4 separate regions of the Homo sapiens genome follow, and regions 2, 3 and 4 are each linked to region 1. The links are contacts of gene promoters, found by promoter capture Hi-C in human tissues and cell types (Jung and others, 2019). All regions are on one chromosome and are shown on one strand. The core of a region is centred on a gene start or on the middle of the fragment in contact, and the rest is flanking DNA. Distances in the headings are between cores, read along the strand shown.

Region 1 (2,743 bases), core at 145-2,644:
ATGATTATTTGGTTAGATGCAAAATTGGTTATCTTCCTATATTGCAATAAAATCATAAACGCTGCGATTATCTTTTTCTCTGAACAGGCTGAATAAAATGTGCAAGTGACCACAGAACTTCACTGTGGCTGGAATCTAATCAATAGTGAAGAGCAAAGCCAAACACAACTGGAGAATTAACTGGCCCCTGGGTGGACTTGTTAACCGATGTCTCAGTTTGACATTGAAAGGTCATGCTCTTCCCCATTATTTCCAAGTTTTGGTAAAGTTTTTAATTGCCCAATTAGAAAAATTATGAGTTTTTTGTTGTTATGTTAACTCATTAACTTACATAGGTTTGGACTAAAAACCACTATCCTAGCTGCTTCTGGGAGTAGAAAGATTAAAAAGGGGGATGGGAATCTTATTTCAAAATTCAAATAAAATAATTCAAATTCAAATAAGAATCTTTAATAGATGCTACATCCCATATCCAGGTCAACATGGCAGGAGAAATGAACAATACAAAGAGGGCAGAACAAATATCCCCAAGGGAAAGAAGCCAGTGGGGGGACTGACAGTCTTTCCTTTCCCTAACAAGGCTGCCTTTATTCAAAGGGATAGCGTTTGCGGATTCCGTCTCTCCATCCTTTGTAAAGGTGCTAGCTAGGGAGCTGAGCTCAAGCGGGCTGCTCTAGGCATAGCAAGCCCCACCCCTTGCACGGTGTCCTAATCACCAGCTAACCCCTGGAATAAATTCTCCACTCGCCCTGCGTGGGTTCATTCACAGCTCTGTAGTCCGGGGCTGGGCGCTTCCTCTCTGGGACTGAAATAAGAGCGCTCTAGACAGATCAGGTGTGATGCAGCCAGCCCTGCTTTAGAGCCTATTCTTTTTCCTAGGCAACAAAAAACACACACACAAAATAAAACACCAAACAGCAGCAATATCCCCCTCCCCCTTCTTGTTCTCTCCTGACTTTTTCTGAACGATGGATGAATCTCTGCGAGCCTCCATCCCTGGGGGTGGGGTGGGAGTGTGGGGGGTTGGGGTGAGCTCTGTAAAATTGGTAGGAGACATGTGGAAGAAAGCAAGTCTCCCGGGTATTTCAGCACTTCGGCAGAAACACTGGGGCATTCTCATTGCCAGCCTCGGGGGGTGGCTGGCACAAAGAGCCCAAGATTAAACGCGGCGCCTGGGCTGGCGAGGTCGGGGTCGTGTGGTAACTCTCCAGGTGCTCCTCGCTGGATCCCGGGGTCCCAGCCCCGCCGCCGCGCCCCGCCCAGCTCTGTCCCCGCAGCCTCGCGGGCTGCCGGGCTTTGTGGTTCGCCCGTGCCGCTGGGCCCCTGCTGGGGGTGTCGTTACGAGCATGTGCAGACAGCAGCCCAAGGTAGAGCGAGCGTGCCGGGCGAGCCCGGAGACTTGCCTTGCAATGCCATGTTTGTGTATGTGCTCTAACTCCCGGAGAGCAATCAGGGAGACGGCTCCCCGGCCAGACTTGGCTGATGTTTTCTTGTTTCTGTTTCAGCCTTCAGGATAATTCCTTCAGCAGCACCACTGTAACAGAGTAAGTGATTCTTACCATTAAAATTAGACTTGCATGCCTTTCTCTGGAAGCAACTATCGTGAAGGTATCCTCCACCGTTCCCAGCCGCTGTTCGTTTTAGATGCATTGTCTCCCGGAATCTGGGGCTGTGAAGACCGTGAGACGTGCTGACTGGTGGGGCCCAGAAATCTTTACAGGTTGAAACCAGCATTTTAGCAGCTGCGGGAGAGAAATTAAAACCAGCTGATTGCTTGCAGGAGCTCAGTGCTCCAAGATATGTGTTCTTGGAGCTCAGATTTTTAAAAATCCATTTGATGTGTTAGGAAGCTTTGTTGTATTTTGCCAACATTGGTGTCAGTTTTCATGGAGTGCACACTATATACATTTACAGCAATAGAAGATAGATGTGAAATGAGCTGAATTCCAGCATGTGGTAAACAGGCTAAACTTATCTTGGCCCTCTCTTGTCTACAGATTTTTAAGGCATATCAGAGTAAACTTTTTGTGCATGCCCTTTGTCATGTTTGTCTTCTGACTACAGAGATGTGACTATGGGACGAATGAGTCACCTAGTCCTATGGTTAAAGCTGTTGATTAGGGCAACTAACACCCTTCAAACATGGAATGAAGGAGTGTGAATGAAGGAGCGTACCAGCAAGCACAGTATTTTTTTAAAGATATTTATATGCTATAGTTTTAATTTTTGACATCCCTTCCTTAATGTTTTCCTAATATTATACTATATTTGTTAAAAATTAACAGGTAGTGTATTTTGCTAATACTGTATGTAATTTATATATACATATATATATATGAATATGTACTTCATCTAGCATTCTTTCTCTAGGCTAATTCATGATGTTTACTTCTGGGACCTTTGTAGAAGCCACTCTAAACATCTTTTCAGGAAAAAGGCATGTGTAAAGTTGTATCCTCAACTACATTTAAAAAATGTTATGAGTTTGATGTAGAAGGCTTAACTAACTGGGGAGCTGTTTGCTAAAATTCCCTAAAAAGCAAATAAATGTTTTGCTTTTGGCTTCCAAGTCCTGCCACTATCACAATGACTTGGTGAGGGAGGGATAAGGTTTACAGTGCTTCCTAGGCCCTCTTGTTTTCCACATTCTTTTGTTTCTCTCTTTTGCTGTGCTGCTCCTTTAGTGTCCAGTTTTGAGCAGACTTAAGTGGAGTCACTTAAAAAAAAAAACAGGATTGACTTT
Region 2 (2,743 bases), core at 126-2,625, 53 kb after region 1:
TGTTCCCTGGGGGACCAGGCCAGAAACACCATGTCACTCCTATACTCAAAGAAGTTCCTCCCTTGCACGTTTTAGCCACTGGTGTCCTCCCAGGCTGTTGCACTTGGACCTTTAGGATAGCGTTCCCCAATTAGGAATCCCCTAGAGTGCTTCTTAACTATATGTCATCATCCTACTTTTCTGGAAATTCTGATTAAGTAGGTTTGGGTTGTGGCCCAGGAATCTCTGTTTTAATAATACTGGCTGATTCTAATCTTCAGAGAAGTACAAGGTGGGAGGTGGTGGTTGGGGAAGTTGGCTTCTGGGAGGGTATACCATTGGGGATCAGTGTTCTGTTTCTAGCTGAAGCATCCTTGGGAGTTCATTGGCCTGGACAAGTGGATACATGGGTTGGGAAGTCAGTTTCTGAACATCCATGGACTTCGAGTTTTGTTTTCTTTCAGTAGTCTCTCGGGGAATAATTTTGAACACTGTGGCTTGGTTTTTTTTTAGTCTTTGAAGTTGGCTGCTTAATATTTGACCTCAGTCCTTTAGCAGACATTTGGTAAGAACCAATAAGAGAATGTCTTCAATGTGGCTTCGACTCTCTAGAGAAAGGAACTTTCTATTTACTGGTATTAAGGGCTGTTATTGTTTCTAATAATATTACTGGAATTTATTGGCATCTTGTCTGTGTCTGCATATAGAGCTATTGTTTGTATATAAAACATGTTTTGCTCAGAGGGTTGTCCTCTTGGGATATACCTTTTGTTTTCAAAAGAGTTTCAGGAAACACCAGTCATACAGCCAGCCAGCAGTCATCCGGGTATACATTAGTGTATCCCAAGTATTGCCTTCTCATAGAGAGGCTCAATTTTTTATGCAGTGGAATATCCTGAATTCTGAAGATGTGATGGGAGTCAGCACTGCTCAGTTCTAAGGCTCTGATTCTATGTGAAGTATTCTGAAAAGTGTGTTGGATGCTCTCTTTTTACTCTTTCTGCCCAGGTTTTCTAGGTCATGGGTTCAAAAGCTACTAATTAATCTTTCATAGATCTCTTCAGGGAAGAAATGCATTTGTTATGGGAATGAGAGTCATTCCATCCTCTAGGCTCTGCTAGCATGCTATAGGTGGAAGAGGGAGCATCAGTTATCATTACTTTACACACTCAGAAATATATAAGAATTGGCAGCTGCCCATAACCCTAGGATGAATACGTTATTTACAAACATATGAGTGCCTACTGTGTGTCATATGCCAGACTTGGCCCTAGAGATAAAATGCTAAGCAAGGCTGCTATGGTCCTTGCTCCACAGTGCTCACCATCGTGAGAAAGAAACAATCAAATAATTACACAAATACATGATTAAGAACTGAGACCTGCTGCATAGCAGAAAGTAGAAGATCAGAATACAGTGAGAACATATATAAGAAAGGGAGACCTGACTGGGAGCTATCTAGCATCTAAAGTATGAATGAGTTACTTAGGAGAGAAAGTGGAGAGGGAACAGCATTACAGGCACATGTGAAGGCCTGCGCTGGAAAGGAGCATGGTGCATCCACAAAACGGAAAGAATGCCAGTGTAGCTGGAGTTCAGAGAGGGAGAATGATGCAAGCTAAGGTTGAGGAGTGGGCACATACTAAATCCTTCAGGGTGTCATACAGTACTCTCGGAATTTTGAGTTTTATTTTAAGTATAGTGTGCAGAAGGGTAGTGAAAGATCTTGTGTGAACGGTGGCCTGAGGAGGGTAGAGGGGAAGTAGGGAGACCAGGGAGAAACTACTGTCATTCAGGTAGTTCAGATGAGAGGTGCTGGTGGCTTGGCCCCAGATGGCAGTGGTAGAGATAGAGGGGAGGGGACAGACACAAACATGATTTGGGATAAGAAATTGAGAGGCTTGTTAATAACTTGGTTATTGGGCTTAAGGGAAAGAAAAGCGTTAGATAGCTGTCCGTTGTCTTCCATGAGCCATTGGCAAGATGGGGAAGCTTTTCACTGAAATAGGAAACACTTTCCTCTGCTAATTTAATTATAGATAGTTCAAACATTGGTGTAAATATACAACTGTGAGCTAAAATGTGGCGTTTTCACAAATTATCACATCCTGCAGTTTGACACTGTCCTTAGGCCAAGAAAAATATCTTAATGCTTAGTTGGGTTTATTGTTTTGAACTCCAGTACACCTCCTGCGAGGAGGCCACTAGAAGATGACCCTACAGGCTGACTCAGCACGAGCTTTAGGGTTCCAGCAAAGTGGGAACATCAAACATTTTTAGAAAAGTTGTATTTCAGTGGGCTATCCACAAGTTTGTAGTCATAGGCTATCCACAAGTTTGCAGTTTGAATCCAGGGAAAAGCTCTTTTCATATCAGCACAAAATTAAGTTTTGCATTTCTCTGTTGAGAAGTATTTTTTACTTTGAATTATACAGTGGTGGCAGCAGTGGCAATGGTGGTGCTGGTGGTGGTGATGGTGATGCTGGTTGGTGGTGCTGGTGGTGGTGATGGTGGTTGGTGGTGCTGGTGGTGGTGGTGGGGGTGATGATGGGGGTGATGCTGGTGGGTGGTGGCAGTGGTGGTGGCAATGGTAGTGGCAGTGGTGGTAGTGATGGTGGCAATGGTGATGGTGATGGTGATGATGGTGATTGTGGAGGTGATGGCAGTGGTTGTGGTGGTTGTGGTGATGGTGGTGGTAATGGTGGTGGTGGTAGTGGTGGTGGTGGGTGATGATGTTGGTGAATGGTGGTGATAGTCATGGTGG
Region 3 (2,743 bases), core at 115-2,614, 52 kb before region 1:
AGTGTTATAATATTCTGTGTTTTTCTGTGTACTTACTATTGCCACTGAGTTTTGTACCTTCAGATTATTTCTTATTGTTCATTAATATCCTTTTCATTCTAATTGAAGTACTCCCTTTAGCATTTTTTGTAGGACATATCTGGGGTTGATGAAATTCATCAGCTTTTGTTTGTTAGGGAAAGTCTTTATTCCTCCTTTATATTTGAAAGACATTTTTGTCAGATATACTATTCTAGTGTAAAAGTTTTTTTTCCTGCAGCCCTTTAAACATAGCATGCAAACTTCTCTTGGCCTGTAAGGGTTCCACTGAAGAGTCTGCTGCCAGATGTATGTGAATGGTGCTCCATTGTATGTGATTTGTTTCTTTCCTCTTGCTGCCTTCAGGATCCTTTGTTTATCCTTGATCTTTGGGGGTTTGATTATTAAACACCTTGAGGTAGTCTTCTGTGGGTTAAATCTGCTTGGTGTTCTATAACCTTCTTGTACTTGGATATTGACATTTTTGTCTAGATTTGGGATATTCTCTATTATTATCCCTTTGAATAAACTTTCTGCCCCCATCTCTTACTCTACCTTTTCTTTAAGGCCAAGAAGGCTTAGATTTGCCCCTTTGAAGCTATTTTCTAGATCCTGTAGGTGTGCTTCATTGTTTTTTATTCTTTTTCCTTTTGTCTCCTCTGTGTATTTTCAAATAGCCCGTCTTTATGCTCACTAGTGCTTTCTTCTGCTTAATCAATCTTGCTGTTAAAAGGCTCTGATGCATTCTTTAATATACCGGTTGCATTTTGCAACTCCAGAATTTCTGCTTGAATCTCTTTAATTATTTGAATCTCTGTGTTAAATTAATCTGATAGAATTTTGAATTTATTCTCTGTGTTATCTTCAATTTCTTTGAGTTTTCTCAAAATAGCTATTTTGAATTCTATATCTGAAAGGTCACATAGCTCTGTTTCTCCAGGCTTTGTCCCTGGTGCCCTATTTAGTTCATTTGGTAAGGTCATGTTTTTCCTGGATTGTCTTGATACTTGCAGATGTTCATCCGTATCTGGGCATTGAAGAGTTATGTATTTATTATAGTCTTCACATTCTGGGCTTGTTTGTACCTGTCTTTCTTGGGAAGGCTTTCCAGGTATTTGAAAGGACTTGGGCATTGTGCTGTAAGGTGTATCTGCTTTAGGGGGGCACACAAAGCCCACTAACACTAGTTCTTGCAGACTCATAGTGGTGTTACCTTCATGGCCTTAGACAAGATCCAGAATAATTATCTGGATTACCAGGCAGAGACTCTTGTTCTCTTTCCTTGAGCAAAAGACCTGAATAGACATTCCTCAAAAGGAAATATGTGAGTGGCTAACAGGTTTCTGAAAATAATGCTCAGCATCACTAACCATCAGGGAAATGCAAATAAAAACCACAATGAAATATCATTTCACCTCAATTAGAATGGCTACTATCAAAAAGACAAAAAGTAATGAATGCTGACATAGATGTGGAGCAAGGAAAACTCTTATACACTACTGGTGAGAATGAAAATTACTACAGTCATTATAAAAAACAGAATGGAAGTTCCTCAAAAAATTAAAAATAGAACTACTGGTGGAGGTTCCAAGATGGCCAAATAGGAAGAGCTCCAGTCTGCAGCTCCCAGCCTGAGTGACACAGAAGATGGGTGATTTCTGCATTTCCAACTGAGGTATCTGCATTTCCAACTGAGGTACTGGGTTCATCTCACTGGGGCTTGTCTGACAGTGGGCACAGCTCATGGAGCAGGGTGGGGCATTGCCTCACCCAGGAAGCACAAAGCGTCGGGGAATTCCCTTTCCTAGCAAAGGGAAGCCGTGACAGACAGTACCTGGAAAATCGGGACACTCCCACCCTAATACTGCACTTTTCCAACGGCCTTAGCAAATGGCACACAGGAGATTATATTCTGTGCCTGGCTTGGAGGGTCCCACACCCATGGAGCCTCGCTCACTGCTAGCACAGCAGTCTGAGATTGAACTGCAAGGCAGTAGCGAGGCTGAGGGAGGGGCATCTGCCATTGCTGAGGCTTGAGTAGGTAAACAAAGCCACCAGGAAGCTCGAACTGGGTAGAGCCCATGGCAGCTCAAGGAGGCCTACATGCCTCTGCAGACTCCACCTCTGGGGGCAGGGCATAGCAGAACAAAAGGCAGCAGAAACTTCTGCAGACTTAAACGTCCCTGTCTGACAGCTTTGAAGAGAGTAGTGGTTCTCCCAGCATGGAGTTTGAAATCTGAGAGTGGACAGACTGCCTCCTCAAGTGGGTCCCTGACCCCTGAGTAGCCTAACTGGGAGACACCTTCCAGTAGGGGCTGACTGACACCTCATACAGCTGGGTGCCCCTCTGAGATGAAGCTTCCAGAGGAAGGATCAGACAGCAACATTTGCTGTTCTGCAGCCTCTGCTGGTGATACCCAGGCAAACAGGGTCTGGAGTGGACCTCCAGCAAACTCCAACAGACCAGCAGCTGAGGGTCCTGATTGTTAGAAGGAAAACTAATAAACAGAAATGACATCCACATCAAAACCCCATCTGTACATCACCATCATCAAAGACCAGAGGTAGATAAAACCACAAAGATGGGGAGAAACCAGAGCAGAGAAGCTGAAAATTCTAAATATCAGAGTGCCTATTCCCCTCCGAAGGAATGCAGCTCCTCGCCAGCAATGGAAAAAGGCTGGATGGAGAATGACTTTGACGAGTTGAGAGAAGAAGGCTTCAG
Region 4 (2,743 bases), core at 119-2,618, 34 kb after region 1:
ACGCAGAATTTGCAGTGAGTCGAGATCGTATCATTGCGCTCCAGCCTGAGTGACAGAGCAAGATTCTGTCTCAAAAAAAAAAAAAAAAAAAAAAAAAAAAAAAAAAACCAGAAAGAAAGAAAAAAAGAAAAAAAAATGGAATCAGAGGACATCCTACTTCATGGATATATGTGGATTTTGAGCCTATGCCTGCGTTTTCCCATGATTTATTTTATTTCTTTGTTGAAATAATGAGTAAGATGGCCAGAAATGTTTTAAAAATAGATCTGAAGAAACTGCTCTCTTGGTTCCCTATTTCTTAAAGGGCCAGAAAATTTTAAATAATAGACACACATTTTTGAAAGGAAATTTAAATCAACTCGTACAGGACGCTCTTTACCCTAGTTACGACATGAATGTAATAGTCCAATAGCTTCTTTTATCCGGGTATAAACATCTTTAAAGTTCCCCAATTATTCAGAAGGACATCAAGTCACTTTCACAGATATGTGAAGGTTAAGAAAAAAGGGACTCTTGGGTGATGTAGGATAGGGTAGATTTACAACACTTTCTCTTGTTCACCTTAAGAACTGAAAATATAAGATTTTCCAAATTATAGTGCTATCAGATATATTAATCATGTCTTAATTAGAGATTTTGGGAAATACTCTCATAAATGCAAGGCATTAACAATAGAGTGATTAAGCTACAGAACCATTTAATTTAAAATTTAATCCAGTAGTTGAAGAAAATAAAGTTTTATCAATTTGGGGAGAGTGGACACAGAGAAAACCTCAAGTATGAGAAGATGAACATTTGATGTTTTGATTGACCACATCCTGGAGGGAAGATATACAGGATGTGTACATCCTTGAGGCCCAAAGATACATTTCTGACTTTCAGACAGAGAAGATGGGCAAGATCTGGGATTAGAATGGTGGGATTAGAATGGAATATTGTTTTGTTTTGTTTTGTTTTGTTTTTCTTGATGGCCATGGATTTGTACAAATAAAGGAACTTGGAAGGGCCTGAAGCAATGGCCATGCCATTTGATCAAAACTAGATGATCTCAAGTGCTACAAGAGTCAGCTGAACTCACTAAAATTGCAATGAGAACAAAATATCATATTTCACCATTCTGGTTTAGGGGCAGCTAATTTTTCCTTAACTAAGTTTGAGTTTTGAGCCTCTTGAGTTAATAGCTTTCCTTTTGTTATCATGCACACTCTCCTAGCCTCTGTACCTGGATGAGATAAATAGCCTAAATTATGTTTGCTTCATGGACAGCTTTCTTATGAACTATCTCAGAATGTAGTAAATTTGATGGTCCCTGCATTTGGCAGAGAACCAACAAATCACCCCACTGAGGTGGACTTGGGACATACTAGGGGTGAGGTGGAGGGTAGATGAAGATGGCTGGGAACAGGAAAAGATGTGGGATGCCTTTTCTTCCAGGTGCCCATCTGGGCTACGCTTGGCCAGGTGGCAGAAAGACCAAGCATGGAGCAGAGGATTTTGGCTTCTTCCCTCAGTCCCCTTGGTCAGTTTGGATCTGACCATTTGACAGACACATTAACACAGAAGTAAAAAGTTAGAATCTGCTCTCTTACCCTTCAGTCTGTGTCAAACAGTAGATTTTAAAGTTCTTTGGGGGCAAGAATGTCTTATTCACTTCTCTATAACCCTCTCAACTATAAAAGTGCTTGGTATATAATAGTGGGGTTTTTTTAGGTAAAAATATATCTTATTTATTTCAGAATACATACCCTACTTTAATGTTCTACAATTTTTGAGCCGAATGTTACAGCCGATTCTAAACAGAGTGATGAAGCTTAAATGGGCAAAGGTAATCAAATGTGTTATTTATTTCCTTTCTTGATGTTGTCACCTTTTTTGGTGGGGGGGTGGGGACAAAATGTTAACTCTCAATCTTTCACAAATATGTTATTTACTCTAAGGACTTTCTTTGGCAGCCCTAGTTAACCTTCACCAGGTGGTGGAGTCCAACTGGAGCAGAGAAATGGGCTTACCAAGGAAGTAAGCCTTGGCTTCTCATGCATCTGGCTAAATCTCTTATAGAGGCAAATACATTTGATTGAGTACTACTATTCTTGTTTTGTACTCTTTCCTTTATAACTTTATGAATAAATGACAGCTGGCAGCACAAGACCTTTGAAAGCTACTGTTCTATTAATTCAATAAGATGATATCCCCATTTCTTCTGTCTTCTTTCTTTAAGAGAAAACATGAAATTATTTTTTAAAGCTGGTCAACTAAGGCTTGGGTTTTCCTCCCCTATTCCCTGTAAGGTACTTGGGTCGGGACGTCTTGTGTTGTTACATGCCAGGCTGTCCTGGGCATGCTCTGTCGTTCCTTAATGCCAATGCACACATCTGTTCAAAATTTCACCTTTCTCATTTTTGAACGTTTCTTAAAATTGATGGATGCATTTAATGTGGCATTATTTTTTTCCTAAAAGACTTATGTAATCAAACCAATGATGGTTTATAATTGATGATATCTTAGAATACAGGAAAGGTAATGTGTTTTAGTTATCTATTGTTGCATAACAAATAACCACAAAACTTAAAATTGCAATAATCATATATTATCTTTCATGGTTTCTGAGGGTCAGGAACTCACCTAGGGCAGACTAGAGAGGTCTGTGTCTGCTTCAGGCTGTCTGGGGTATCAGCTAGAAGACTTAAAGCCTAGAAATTAGAAGCATCTGAAGGCTCATTGATTCCCATGTGAGCTTTGCTGG

Evidence for each region. Contacts are between HindIII fragments. The study calls those that stand out against the background at their distance.
Region 2: a fragment that was not itself captured here is called in contact with the fragment with the promoter of FAM13C in region 1 in 2 of the 25 tissues and cell types used here (adrenal gland and dorsolateral prefrontal cortex).
Region 3: a fragment that was not itself captured here is called in contact with the fragment with the promoter of FAM13C in region 1 in 2 of the 25 tissues and cell types used here (bladder and heart right ventricle).
Region 4: a fragment that was not itself captured here is called in contact with the fragment with the promoter of FAM13C in region 1 in 3 of the 25 tissues and cell types used here (bladder, hippocampus and pancreas).

What each region holds. Positions count from the first base shown.
Region 1 is chr10:59,361,200-59,363,942 of GRCh38, reverse strand. It overlaps FAM13C (family with sequence similarity 13 member C), which reads left to right and starts at 1,394. Exons shown (of 14, transcript NM_198215.4): 1 at 1,394-1,544. The coding sequence starts at 1,483. LOC124902428 (a long non-coding RNA gene) reads right to left here and starts at 2,044. Exons shown (of 2, transcript XR_007062148.1): 1 at 1,560-2,044; 2 at 429-875. The HindIII fragment of the contact is 7,624 bases long and covers 1-2,571 here.
Region 2 is chr10:59,308,316-59,311,058 of GRCh38, reverse strand. All of the region lies in intron 4 of FAM13C (family with sequence similarity 13 member C), which reads left to right. Among named protein-coding and RNA genes, the nearest start is that of FAM13C, 53 kb to the left of the region's middle. The HindIII fragment of the contact is 4,882 bases long and covers 1-2,743 here.
Region 3 is chr10:59,413,316-59,416,058 of GRCh38, reverse strand. No RefSeq gene overlaps it. Among named protein-coding and RNA genes, the nearest start is that of FAM13C, 52 kb to the right of the region's middle. The HindIII fragment of the contact is 6,099 bases long and covers 1-2,743 here.
Region 4 is chr10:59,326,707-59,329,449 of GRCh38, reverse strand. The region is part of intron 3 of FAM13C (family with sequence similarity 13 member C); the gene reads left to right. The region is part of intron 1 of LOC102724778 (a long non-coding RNA gene); the gene reads right to left. Among named protein-coding and RNA genes, the nearest start is that of FAM13C, 34 kb to the left of the region's middle. The HindIII fragment of the contact is 4,252 bases long and covers 1-2,743 here.